3 separate regions of the Homo sapiens genome follow, and all the other regions are linked to region 1. Evidence: promoter capture Hi-C in human tissues and cell types (Jung and others, 2019). All regions are on one chromosome and are shown on one strand. The core of a region is centred on a gene start or on the middle of the fragment in contact, and the rest is flanking DNA. Distances in the headings are between cores, read along the strand shown. Region 1 holds the start of FAXC (failed axon connections homolog, metaxin like GST domain containing). Region 2 overlaps FAXC (failed axon connections homolog, metaxin like GST domain containing). Region 3 overlaps PNISR (PNN interacting serine and arginine rich protein).

Region 1 (4,670 bases), core at 1,401-3,900:
GGCCAAGGAGGGAGGATTTCTTGAGGCCAGGAGTTTGAGACAAGCCTGGGCAACATAGTGAGACCCCATCTCCACAAAAAAGTTAAAAAAAAAATTAGCCAAGTGCAATGGTTCATGCCTGTAATCCCAGCAACTCAGCAGACTGAGGCCAGAGGATCGCTTGATCCCAGGAGTTCAAGAGCAGCCTGGCCAACACGGTGAAACCCTATCTCTACTAAAAATACAAAAATTATCCAGACGCGGTGGTGCACGCCTGTAATCCCAGCTACTCAGGAGGCTGAGCCAGGAGAATCATTTGAACCAGGGAGGTGGAGGTTGCAATGAGCTGAGATCGAGCCACTGCACTCCAACATGGGCGACAAAGCGAGACTCAGTCTCAAAAGAAAAAAAAAAAAAAAGGAAGAAAAAGTGTGAATCAACCTAGGATTAAACTCCTTAGTCCAAATAAGCATCCAGTGCTGAGGTATATAGTCCCCTAAATGAGTTAGTAGCTATCTGTGGGCAGAGAGCTCTCCAGTCTCCAGTGACAACACCTGCCAGGGCAGGGCCTACTCCGGAGTGGCAGCTGAGCTCCACACTGTTTCTGCAAGGTCATTTAAGCTTTGTTTTAAACTTGGTCCTGTGAAGCCTTCACTCCCTCCACTGCTGAGAAGCCTCATGGTTTGGGATCTCCTCAAAGGCTTTAGACTAGAATACAACTGAGAAACAACTGGGTTACCATTTAAATTACTGCCCAAATGTTTTAGTTCTTTAGGTAGCTTGAAATCTAACTTGAAATACAGTTCTAAAACTAGCACAATTAACAAATAATCTAGAGAGATAATTCTCTTTAAATTTTTTTGTTTGGTTCAGCTAGATTCAAGGCAATGTGTTGAGAGAATTAAATGTGCAACAAGCTTAAAATAAACTTCCTCAAATATGGCTAAATAATATGAAAACCAATACATTTCTCCAAACCTAAATGATTTCCCACCCTTTCAGAGATGGGAACTATTCAAAATATGTACGTTAGGCCAAATGCCTACATTAGGCCATCACAATAATCTCCTGGGATCCCTGCAGGCTAGTACAGGTCACCTATCACTGTCTTTGTTTATAACCTATTGTGTAGGATTCCTCCACTGGAATAAGGCAGTGTGGACACATTTCTCTCACTTTAGAAAATACTGGCAAAGAGACATTCTGAGCTATTGAAAACTGGGCTTCTGGTAATCTTCCAGTGACGGAAGGCTCAAATGCATGGAAATTTTAACCATTAATTGATGTATCAATTAGCCAAACGACTGTCTCAGTGCCCTGTGGTATTACTCTACCCAAACAAAAATCTCGTCCCGGCTGGATGTACCAACAGCAGGGGCCTCCATTTTCTGGTATTTCCAACTCAATCTTGTAAACATTCTGCGGCAGCGGATGCAACTGTTTACGGCACTGGGCGACTCCGTGTTGTGCCCAACACACCCATGTGCTAGCCTGTCCTACTGCTCACACAACAATGACATCTAAGCCTGAAGATGGTGCTTGGCGTTCAATACCAGATAAGCAGAGAACCAGGTTAAGGCTGCATCAAAGCTGCCCACCACTACACTTGGTCATGCATCTTTAACAGGGACCCGCAGGTTTCTGGAGCTTTTGCAATTTTTCAGTCTTTTGATGTTGACATTTAGGGAAGAACTAACCTTTAGGTAAAAGATAAGGTTAGCAGTTAATATTCCAGCATTATTACTTATAAACAAGGCATTTCATAAAAGTGTAACCTATTTCTGCAGGGCCCAATTCTATTGTTGCAAACACACTGCACTTAGATCCTCCTAAGGCCATTTCTTAATAGATAACGACAAGTGACCCAGAGCATTTTGGGAGACAAATGTTTTTCCCTCCCAGCACCGGTTTAATTCTCCTTTCAACTCTAAACTGCCCCTCACGGCCAGGTGACCACAAATGCCTTTAGGGAAAGGTAATTGCAGGGCGCTTGGGCATCTGGGCAGCTTGACCGAGGGGCTGGCACGGGCCCCTCTCGCGCCAGCCCTGCCCTAGCCAGGTGCCCCTCTCTGCGCCCCTGTGCGGGGCCCTCTCTCCGGCTCACCTAATGACCAGGAGTTCGTGGAGCAGATACGCAGCTGCGGCCAGCAAAGCTCCCCCGGTCAAGTAAAGGGTTTTCTTCCACCAGGGATCGGAGCCCAGCCCTGCCATGATCCCACCGTAATCCTGCAAAGGGAAAGCGATGATGTCCCCATAAAAGGAGAAGGGCTCCTCGGACCCGGCCCACCAGCCGAAGAAGGAGATGCTCTGGTTCCAGCTCAGATCCACCACGCACGGCCTGGACGAAGCAAAGCCAACCCCCCAGTGCATGCTGCGCGGCTGGCTCCGGGCGCCCCTCCCAGGGCCCGCGCCGCCCGCATGGGAAGGGGCCGGCGCGGCCCGGCGCGGGCTCAGAGGCGCGCGGAGGGCGCGGGCGGCGCGGGCGGCGGCGACTGAGGAGGCGGCGGCGACTGAGGAGGCGGCGGCAGAGGAGGAGGAGGAGGAAGGGCACTGGCCGCGGACGGCGGGCCTGGCCGGCGGGGCCCCAGAGCCCTGGGCGGCAGCAGCGGCCGCCGGCTCCCCCCGCAGCTGCCTCTCCGCCCCGCTCTTTGTGTCGGCGCCTGGAGAAGGCCGCGTGATGTCATTGCTCCCCGGGGCAGGGAAACAGAGGCGGGATAAAGTCACCTACCCCGCGCCCTGCCCCCTCCCCGCATCTCCGCGGTCCGGCCGCCTCCGCCGGGGCCGGATCTGCAGGGCTGAGGCGCGCCGGGCAGGCTCCGCGCCTCCGGGCGGCACGCCCAAAAACCGCTCGCCGCGCGCGGGCAAGGGCGGCGGAGGTGCCTGGAAATGCGGCCCCACCGCGAGGAAGCTGCAGTCGGGGCCCGGATCCCGGTCCTCCCCTACCCCGGCCGGCCCTCCGCCTGCGCTCCAGCCCCTCCCGCGGGCCCCAGAGTAGGGAACGCGCAGGACTCACCTGGGGCGGCGCGGAGCTGCGGGCAGGAGACGCCACCAGGCGGGGGCTGGGAGCGTGGGCCAGGATTAAAGTCGGGAATCAGATTGTTCTGGCCATCAGGAAAGCGCTGCGTATTTGCATAATGTATAAAAACACTCTTATTACATTACACAATTACCTCGGGCTTGACCAGGTGTTCGCAGAGACGAGATGTCTGGTTTGGCAAATAACAAAATACTCTACCTAGAGAGATTTCTCTGACAAACCCAGTTCAAGTCTTTCCTCTTTGAAGTCACTATCAGGGAACTCGCTGATACAGGGTTTCGGTTGGGGGACGGGGGTCCCTCTTTTGTTTTAGAAAATCTGTCTAACAACTGTGTGTGTGTTCAGTGTATTTTTTTCCTTTAACTTCATTTATTAAAGTTCATAAGTACAAAGAATAGAAGCTTGTAATATATGCACAGATTTTAACAAGAGCATGGATAGTTTTAAATTGTTTGGAAGAACTGAAAAAGGATTCGGGCCGTGGAGGTTCATCACTCTCAAGGTGGAAGGATGGGTAAAAGAAACCTCCAGGCTCTTGCCTATGGAGCAGAGATTGAGGCGCAAAAGGACTCCCCCTTTTTTTCCTCTCCTGACACACCCGCCCCTTAGAACAGGCAAGGAGTGTGGTCGTCTTGTTAATAAATAATAAATATGGACGTGTCGCCTCAACGAGACGGGGGGAGGGGCTAGTCAGCTGATGCCTAGGCACCAGCATGTGAGACTCCCCAAACACTCCTGGGAAAATGTGACCTCCCAGGAAGAAGTAATGTGTGTGGTTCTAAGTGAGGCTCCCATAAGTAGGTTGCAAGGAGTGAAACCCAACGGCCTCCTGGGGTGACTGAGGTGGTCACCAGCCGGTCTTTCAAGGAGAGAGGCCAGAAGGCTGCCTGGCCTTGTCGGCAAGAAGCAGAGTAGTTAAGTCTGGGACCAAAGCTGCAGTGCTCTGGAAGAGGGAACAAGGAGGGCTGGCACCAGGGATTCTCCATGCTCCTTCTGTGCCCTTCCCACAGAGCACTCAGTCTTTGCTCTCAGTGAACACTGAGCCAATATTTAAAGAATATAAGTTTGATATTTGGGATCACATTATTTGCATATCTAGGTCTAGACATGGGGATGGGCATAAATTACCTTAAGTGGAAGAATATGGAAGGCAAAAGGGAGAGTCAATCCTGACAAACCTTATGCCCAAAACAAGTTAGAACCCAGAGGAAGTGTAGTATTTTTATCCCAGAAAGCCACTGACTACAATTCACTCTCACTCATAGTGACCTGCCCCACCCACTCATGCAGGCCAGGGGCCCACTGCTGCTTCCTGGTAGTGTCAGACAACTGTTGAGCATCATCTGGTCTCTGGTTCAAATATGGTTTACATTTTTAGAGACACTGCAGTGAACATCTTTAAGAAGCAGATGTGGGCTGGGCACAGGTGGCTCACACATGTAATCCCAACACTTTGGGAGGCCAAGGTGGGTGGATCACCTAAGGTCACGAGTTCGAGATCAGCCTGGCCAACATGGCGAAACCCCGTCTCTACTGAAAATACAAAAAATTAGCCGGGAGTGGTGACGAGCACCTGTAATTCCAGCTACTCGGAAGGCTAAGGCAGGAGAATTGCTTGAACCCAGGAGGCGGAGGTCTCAGTGAGGAGAGATTG
Region 2 (4,670 bases), core at 1,087-3,586, 79 kb before region 1:
TGTCTTAAGTCTGGTGGCCGTGCTAGTCGCTTTTAACTGGCCAGCTTTTAACAGGTGCCTGGTATTTAGCCCCCAAATTCTAAGGAAAAATAGAACAAAATAGCAAGTGAAAGGGGTCTGATGGTACTCACTGCTTGGCGATAGGCAATAGTCCCATCTGGGTCACCAAAATGTGTCTAGAGTTGGTCCCTTCCAGTGGGTTCTTGGTCTTGCTGACTTCAAGAATGAAGCCGCAGACCCTCGCGGTGAGTGTTACAATTCTTAAAGATGGTGTGTCCAGAGTTTGTTCCTTCAGATGTTCAGATGTGTCCAGAGTTTCTTCCTTCTGGTGGGTTTGTGGTCTTGCTGAGTTCAGGAGTGAAGCCGCAGACCTTCACAGTGAGTGTTACAGCTCTTAAAAGTGGCACGTCCAGAGCTGTTCATTCCTTCCGGTGCGTTCATGGTCTCGCTGACTTCAGGAGTGAATCCGCAGACCTTCGTAGTGAATGTTACAGTTCTTAAAGGTGGCGCGTCCAGAGTTGTTCATTCCTCTTGGTGGGTTCATGGTCTCGCTGATTTCAGGAGTGAAGCCACAGACCTTCACAGTGAGTGTCACAGCTCTTAAAGGCGGTGTGGACACAAAGAGTGAGAAGCAGCAAGATTTATTGTGAAGAGCGAAAGAACAAAGCTTCCACAGTGTGGAAGGGGACCCTAGCGGGTTGCCACTGCTGGCTCAGGTGGCCAGCATTTTTTCCCTTATTTGGCCCTGCCCACGTCCTGCTGATTGGTCCATTTTACAGAGCGCTGATTGGTCCGTTTTACAGAGTGCTGATTAGTCCGTTTTTACAGAGTACTGATTGGTGCATTTACAAACCTTTAGCTAGACACAGAGCACTGATTGGTGCGTTTTTACAGAGTGCTGATTGGTGCATTTACAAACATTTAGCTAGACTCAGAGTGCTGATTGGTGCATTTACAATCCTTTAGCTAGACAGAAAGTTCCCCAAGTCCCCACCTGACCCAGAAGCCCAGCCGGCTTCACCTCTCAATGATACAGATCTGCATGGGTTCTGTAAGAAGGCAAACCCTGCATTACGAAGTGAGGATGATTTAACAAAAGTTGATGAAGTAAAATCACTCCTGGTTCAACACAAGCACCTCCCAATCTTCACAGCCTTCTACCTTCTGTGTGGTCTGATAGCAGAAGAGATAGAGTGGTGTAGACCTAGTATTGTGCAGAATGTAAAAGCTACATTCCTAAACCTAGACTCTTTGCTTTCAAACCCCAGCCCTGTTGTTCACTTGGCATGAGATCTCCAGTGAGTTATGTAACCTCACTTTGCCTCAGTTTCTAATCTGTTGAGATGATGATGATGATGGTGATGGTGACGGTGAGGATGGTGGTGGTGGTCGTGGTGGTGGTGGTGATGGTGACAATGGTGATGGTGGTGATGACGATGGAGCCACATGATGGTGATAATGGTGACAATGACAATGGTAACAATGATAGCACTTATTTTGTTGTTGTGAGAATTCAATGAGTTGATATATGTAGCTTGCAAGGAACACAGTGTTTAGCACTTGGTAAGTGATATGTAAATGTTAGCTATTATTAGTTGATTTGGTCAATAAACTCTTCATTGATATGAGAATCAGCAAAGCAGGAGGTAGAATTAGTGTTTATAGAGAAGTAGTACTCAACTTCAGGGGAGGATGGAAGGAGGTTTGAGCTAGAAGGTATCTTAAAGATCAACCTACAGGCCCCCTCATTTTTTATAAGAAAATGATAGTGACATGCTCCAGGAGTTACAATATCTTAAAGACAATTAAACATAATACAAATATAAGGTGCTAGTAATTTTTATTCTGTCTCTAGCTCTCCAGCTTATTTGCTTTAACTATCCCTTCATAGGCTGTGGCTTCACTTTACCCCAGCACAAGTTCTAGGCCTGTGATTTGTTACTGGATCCTCAAATTCAGTGTGACTAAAACGAAACTCCATTTTCCCTGCAAACCCATTCCCCTTCCTCCACATTTCCCATGTCTGACAGCAGCATCACTACATCCCCAGTCTCCTGGGGTAGGAGCCTAAGCATTACCTTCATTTTCATCATCTCTCTCTCCACTGCTGCTCCTCACATCCCAGGAGCCTCAGTGTTTCCTTGTGCATGTGGCTGCTCTCTCCCTCTCCCTATCTCCACCATCCCCTCTCCCTTGCATGCCTTTAGCTTCACTCTGAGCCCCAGGAATCAGCAGGTCTCATTGTTCCGCCATGGCCTCTTCTCTGACTATATCCAGGATGTCCTCAGATGAATCTTATTTAAATACTCTCCCATTGTGTTAGTCCCCTGCTCAAACACCCTCCTCACTCCAAAGGGATGACTTCCGTAGAATCTGGCCCTGCATACTTCCTCCTCACTTACCCCCCTTCCCAAGCTGTGCCACCAGTGAATCAGGACTATTTGACTTTTGACTGACAGTCACACAGGATTTCCACCATCTTCCTTTGAAATCCCAAGCTAAAGTTGGGAGGAGGCCTGTGACAGTGGAGAAGGAGGTAGCCAGGTCCCCATACAATCAATGCCTGGAAACAGGTAGAGTGGGGAAGGGGCCTGGGCCTGCCCCCTCCCACACTCAGCCCCTCCCTCAACCCTCTGCCCTTCCGGAGCTGCCTTTCATGTTTGTTTTCATCCAGATTTACCTGTATATAATGTTGAGCACAGGTTACCCAGTGTGTTTGCCCAGGCCCAACATACCCTGCGGTAGGTGAACGTAACCCTCCAATCCGAACAGTCCCTCCACTGGAGACGACCCCCTAAGTCTTCATAACAAGAACGCTGGCACTAAAATAGACCTCTTAGGCATACGGGGCAGCAACACGCTAATTCCGTAAGGAAGGAAGCTGGTTCTTTTTCCTCTTTTTTTTTTCCTCCAAAATCCACTTTTATCCAAAGGATAAGCTGCTCTGACCTTGACAGTTTTTAAAAGAAAAGTCTGTTGCTAATGGGAACCAGCCCAGCTGTGAAAGATCTAATGAGTGCCTGCCAGTGGCGTCATCTAGAAACAAATCAAGCAGCTTCTGAGAGAGCAGGGAGACCAGCTGTTCCGCCTCTCCTCTAAAAGGAAAGAAGAACAGAAATATGAAACATTGAGTCAAGAAACAGTACAAATGGCAGCAAAACATGTATTTTAACGACTCTGAGATCACAGCACATTGGAAAGGTAAATGACCCTCTTCCCTCTGATGAGTCCTGAAAGCTAGGACAGCAAAGCTTCCCTAACAGGACAGACGGGAAGTCCAGGACCCCACACAAGTTCTAGAAGGGTGTGGAACCAACTGACGTTGAAGTAGATGTAGATCTATTTCAAAGTATTTCTGACTAGGGTCTATGTTAATAAACAGGGCTGATAGGATTTATAGGTCAAGAGAAATGGAGTCTAAAAAGATGAAAACCAAACTACAGGTCGAGCATCCCAAATCCAAAAATCCAAAATCTGAAACGCTCCAAAATCCAAAACTTTTTGAGCACTAACATGACACTCAAAGGAAACGGACATTGGATCATTTCAGATTTCCAGTTTTGATTTTGGGATACTCAACTGGTATAATGCAAATATTTCAAAATCTGAGAAAAACCCAGATCCAAAACACTTCTGGTCCCAAGCACTTCAGATAAGAGATACTCAATCAGTATTATCACTGAAATGGGAAATTAGGGGGTTCTCTCATTTCCTACTTAATAGATATTCCCATGTTGGGAAGGGAGGGTTAGAATTTTGAATGTTACCTGATTGTAATTTGCTCTAAATGGTAAAAAGCTAATATTTGAGTAACAGTATTATTATTTGACCAAAGATTTGGTCAAATTTTAAGATAGAATTTGAAACATCCTGCATGTCTCTATAGATCTTGACATGCCTATAGGCCCAGCTATCCTTTAAGGTTCATTACCATACACATGTGTGAATCACTTCATAGTAAGATTTGAATTTCCAAAATCTTGCTGTGAATCTCTGACCCTAAAGACTTGAGCATATCATGGCCATATTACCATATGCCAGTTTATCATCCCAAACGTCTTTCTTCATCTGTAATTTGGGAACAATAATTACTTTATTGAAGAGGTATGAAAACTAATTGAGACTATATGTGTGTGTGTGTGTGTGTGTGTGTGTGTGTGTGTGTGTGTGTGTTTGAGATGGAGTTTTGCTCTTGTTGCCCAGGCTGGAGTCAATGGCACAAAGTCAGCTCACTGCAGCCTCCACCTCCTGGGTTCAAGCGATTCTCCTGCCTCAGCCTCCCAAGTAGCTGGGATTACAGGCATGCACCACCATGCCCGGCTAATTTTGTATTTTTAGTAGAGACAGGGTTTCTCCATGTTGGTCAGGCTGGTCTCAAACTCCCAACCTCAGGTGATCTGCCCACCTTGGCCTCCCAAAGTCCTGGGATTACAGGCATGAGCCACTGCACCCTGCCTAATTGAGACAATATTTATACAAGGGGAAATTGGTCTATTATAAGGCCTAGCCATAGTAAAGGTCTCAACATGTGCTCCCAGCTCTCCCTCTCCTCCTTGTCTTCTCTCTACCAGTGGTTCTCACACTTCGTAACACTCTGAGGCACACTGGGCATGAAATAAAAGCAGGAGAGGATGGGACAGCATATTCCAGAGATCTGTTTTTCTTCTTAA
Region 3 (4,670 bases), core at 511-3,010, 71 kb after region 1:
TGGCTAACACGGTGAAACCCGTCTCTATTAAAAATACAAAAAAATTAGCCGGACATGGTGGCACTGGCCTGTAGTCCCAGCTACTCCGGAGGCTGAGGCAGGAGAACTGCTTGAACCCGGGAGGTGGAAGTCGCAGTGAGCTGAGATAGCACCACTGCCCTCCACCAGCCTGGGTGCCAGAGCGAGACTCCGTCTCAAAAAAAAAAAAAAAAAAAAAAAAAAAAAAAAAAAAAAGGGCAATTTACCATTATGGCATCTTAACAAAACGTACATGCACATCCCTCTGACCCAGCAATTCCACCGCAGGGTCCTAAACCATGAATGTGAATATTCATACCATAATTCAAAAATTGGCAGCATATTTTGTAACAGTAAACATCTGGTTTCAGTGACATTAAATTAAAGGCAAGTTAAATAAGTTAGAGTGAACCATACAGTTGATTCCTATTCAGCCATTAAAATGAATAAGGTAGACTGCTACATACTGGCATGTATTACCGTACAAACTGCATTAAGCGAAAAAAAGGGACTACAATCTGTCCCTTTTCTACAAAATTTTAATATAAGTCCAAATTTCATTTTCATGACCAGAGTTACCTGTTTTGGATAAGATTATCAAAATTTACTCTAAATCCTATAAGAAAATGAGATAGAGGACATTTGCCCAATGTCTCACAGTTGAAGAAGTTTGTGTAATTTGTACTGCCTGTACTAGTCATTATGGACTGTGTTCATTAGCTTCATTTGATTCTTTGTATCTTTAAAAATCTGTATTTTTTCTAAAAATACACATTGACAGAATAAAATAATTAAAAGAATACAGAAAAATATAAAATAAAGATTAAAAATACCTGATTCCTATTTCCAATTCCTAGAGCTTGGCAGTTTTGAGAAGATTTTGTAATTTAGTAATTTTCTATACATAACTGCATTCTTTTTTTTTTTTGAGATGGAGTCTCGCTTTGTTGCCCAGGCTGGAGTGCAGTGGTGCGATGTTGGCTCACTGCAAGCTCTGCCTCCCAGGCTCACACCATTCTCCTGCCTCAGCCTCCCGAGTAGCTGGGACTACAGGCGCCTGCTACCACGCCCGGCTAATTTTTTGTAGTTTAGTGGAGACAGGGTTTCACCCTGTTAGCCAGGATGGTCTCAATCTCCTGACCTCGTGATCCTCCCGCCTCAGTCCCCAAAGTGCTGGGATTACAGACGTGAGCTATCGCTCCCGGCCCATAACTGCATTCTTAAAAAGAAAAGGCCTCAAGTGGCATCATTTTTCATGCATTGGGCAAATGTTCTCTGTCTCATTTTCTTATATGATTTAGAGTAAATTTTGATAATCTTATCCAAAACAGGTAACTCTGGTCATGAAAACAAAATTTGCACTTACATTAAAATTTTGTAGAAAAGAGACAGATTGTAGTAAAGACTTGTTTTAAAACTAGGAAATACTTAAACTTTTATATATGTTTCAGCACATAGCACAATGCTTGATAAGGAGTTTCATTAACTATTGTTTAATTAAACAGTAAGATTACTAGTGATTTTATGGCAAGGATTTAGGAACACTACTCTTTCTTCCTTCATCTTCACCATAGTATCTTCACTACTAACAAATCCAACAAATGCAAAATCTAGAAAACAGAAGGAATACACAGGCACAACACACAGTAATCAATGGATACATATTTTAAATTTCACTATGGTTTAACAAAATAACATAACGTTGTACCATTAAAAATGACATTTACAAGTTGGTTTAAAAATGATTTGGAAAATGTTGATAATTTAAGGATGGGCATTTGCTACCCTCTTCTTTACCACTGTTTGAAAGCTTTCATTTAATAAGTTAAAGATGACATACAATAATACTTTTTATAGAGGGTCTGCATTAAATTTTCATGTTTTTGTCTTGGCTCAAACAAAAATCTTCTTTAGGGGAGAGAAAACATTTTATAATAATTTAAATTCTCCATAATGTTTTGTCCATGTTAAGTGGTTAAATATTTATAATTCACTGAAATGTTAGCAAGTAAATACATTAATGTTCAACCATGAAAATGACATTCCAATATTGCTACTGTGATTTTATAATATCAAAAATTGATTCCAATTTATTCACTCTTCCTTTAGACTTAATTTTAAAGCTTGTTAGGCTTGGGTTTTCAAGTTTGGAGAAATTTGATTAATGACGGGCAAGGCTGCAAGACTTTCCTAACAGTATTTCCCTTCATGTGGTAAAGTGAACTGCTATTTCCTTGGAAAACAAATGGGGTCTGGGAAGAACAGAAAGATGAATAACCAAGGTTTGTATCAGATCATCAAAGCCACCACACACTGCCGCAAAAAAATCAAGTGATAGCTATCACCAGTGTTATGGAATGAATTGTGTCCCCATCCAACAGATACACTGAAGTCCTAACTCCTGATACTTGTGAGTATCAAGTGATACTTGTGAGTATGTCCTTATTTGTAAATAGGGTCTTTGCAGATGTATTCAAATTACAGTGAGTTCATATTTGATTAGGAGGGACCTTATTAAAAAGGAGACATAAGACACTTACAGGGAGAATGTAACATGACCACAGTGGTACAGATTGGGAGTAGATGGCTCTATAAGCCAAGGAACATCAAGGATTGACAAGAACTACCAAAAGCTAGGAAGAGACAAGAATCCCCTACAAAGCCATTAGAGAGCATGCCCTACCAAAACCTCAATTTTACACTGTTAGCCTTCAGAACTGTGGAAGAATAAATTTCTGTTGTTTGAAATCAGCCAGTTTGTGGTAATTTGCTACAATATCCCTAGAAAACTAATACAACCAGAAATGGCCATCATCTATTTTATCCTTTTCTTAAATGTATCTATATTAGAACTTCATCGCTTTGAGGTCCTAAAACAACTTGTTTAAATGACAATCATTTATTTATTATTGAGAAATTCTCACTCTGTCGCCCAGGCTGGAATGCAGCAGTGTGATCTCGGCTTACGGCAACCTCCACCTCCCAGGTTCAAGCAATTCTCATGCCTCAGCCTCCCGAGTAGCTGGGACTACAGGTGCATGCCACCGCGCGAGGATAATGTTTGTATTTTTTAGTAGGGATGGAGTTTCACCATGTTGCCCAGGCTATCCTCAAACTTCTGGCCTCAATGATCCATCCTCCTCAGCCTCCCAAAGTGCTGGGACTACAGGCATGAGCCACCCCGTGTGGCCAAAATGACAATCATTAATATTTACAAAAGTCACTCAGAGACTGTGACAGAGATGGATGAGAATTAAAATGTGGTATTTTAAAGTCCTTGAGCATCAACTACAAAATCAAAGAGCTACAGAAACACATCTATCATTTGATGCATAGGATGAAATATTTCTCAAATCAACCACAAAGCTGAGAAGCCAGAAAATACAACAATCCTCTTCACCCCTGACATTTCAGTCTTACATGAGTTGACTGACCTCAAAGTCAAAAAAGAATTTATTTGTTTAATTCAGATTAGGTGGAAATGGCACTGGTAAAAATTAATCTTGTAATCATTCGAAATACGGAAAACAGAAATTTTGCTACTTTATGTGACATGCATTTTAGTATATACTGAAATACTTGCAGCTTGTAGCTCAAAAGACTATTTTAAAAGTGGAGGACAAGCATGGCGGCTCATGCCTGTAAACCCAGCACTTTGGCAGGCCAAGGTGGGTTCATCACTTGAGGCCAGGAATTCGAGACCAGCCTGGCCAACATGGCGAAACCTCCACTCTACTGAAAATACAGAAATTAGCTGGGCATGGTGGCATATACCTGTAGTCCCAGCTACTTAGCAGGCTGAGGCAGGAGAATCACTTGAACCCGGGAGGCAGGGGTTGCAATGAGCCAAGATTGTGCCACCACTGCACTCCGGTCTGGGAAACAGAGTGACACTCTGTCTCAAAAAAAAAAAAAAAAAAAAAAACTGGAGAATTGGAGAGTCGGTTATAAATACCCCCCCAATAATAATTTAAAAATAAATGTAGCGAGAGCGCCCAAAATGACACCCTAGTAGCAACAAGCACACCTAGGCACGAGAACTTGGTTTTAATACCATTCTTCAATAAAAGGAATCAGAGATCTTTAAAGAAATAGCTGACTCTAGGACTGCGACAGGAAATATAAAAGATGAGTCTGGGGCATGTATACTGCCAGGAAGCAATAAAGTGCTAAAAAAAAAAAAATTGATAGGAACATGTCAAAGGAGAACAGTAGACAACTCGAAGAGCTGCCAATGGCCAAAGCTGGTACAATTTGAGCAACAAAATAAAGAAGTACTGGATTATAATATAAGTTATGTAATAAACATCCACAAGCCCATAAGGATATGATAAAATAAACTAACAAATAAATGTGAGGGAAGACACAAATCTCCCACAGAGAATTCCAAATAAATTATGTAAATATTCCACCCTAACTGAGGAAGAGCACAACTGTCCATTCAGTAAGCGTGGGCTCTGCAAAGTGACTTCCTTCCAAAGAGAACAGTATAAAAAGGGGTGGGGGAAGTAACTTTACAGTGGATAAATCTAACAAACGCTACTCCAGAAGGATGATCAAGGTCAGTAATAATGTGATAAGTCACCTTGATAGTATGTATCCTTGATAGCATGTGTTGAAAAGGGCATCTTACCTCTGTGATCTTCCCCTGA

Evidence for each region. The method cuts DNA at HindIII sites, captures the fragments that hold promoters and counts their contacts. A contact is called where the count stands out against the background at its distance.
Region 2: a fragment that was not itself captured here is called in contact with the fragment with the promoter of FAXC in region 1 in 2 of the 25 tissues and cell types used here (H1 embryonic stem cells and bladder).
Region 3: a contact is called between a fragment that was not itself captured here and the fragment with the promoter of FAXC in region 1, in 3 of the 25 tissues and cell types used here (H1 embryonic stem cells, hippocampus and neural progenitor cells).

Annotation. Positions count from the first base shown.
Region 1 is chr6:99,347,024-99,351,693 of GRCh38, forward strand. It overlaps FAXC (failed axon connections homolog, metaxin like GST domain containing), which reads right to left and starts at 2,651. Exons shown (of 6, transcript NM_032511.4): 1 at 2,084-2,651. The coding sequence starts at 2,349. RefSeq lists enhancers at 1-34, 925-1,489 and silencers at 2,681-2,740, 2,811-2,860, 2,921-3,000. The HindIII fragment of the contact is 6,681 bases long and covers 1-4,670 here.
Region 2 is chr6:99,268,019-99,272,688 of GRCh38, forward strand. FAXC (failed axon connections homolog, metaxin like GST domain containing) reads right to left here. Exons shown (of 6, transcript NM_032511.4): 6 at 3,150-4,670. Among named protein-coding and RNA genes, the nearest start is that of FAXC, 79 kb to the right of the region's middle. The HindIII fragment of the contact is 5,171 bases long and covers 1-4,670 here.
Region 3 is chr6:99,418,957-99,423,626 of GRCh38, forward strand. All of the region lies in intron 1 of PNISR (PNN interacting serine and arginine rich protein), which reads right to left. Among named protein-coding and RNA genes, the nearest start is that of PNISR-AS1, 3.6 kb to the right of the region's middle. The HindIII fragment of the contact is 4,413 bases long and covers 1-3,967 here.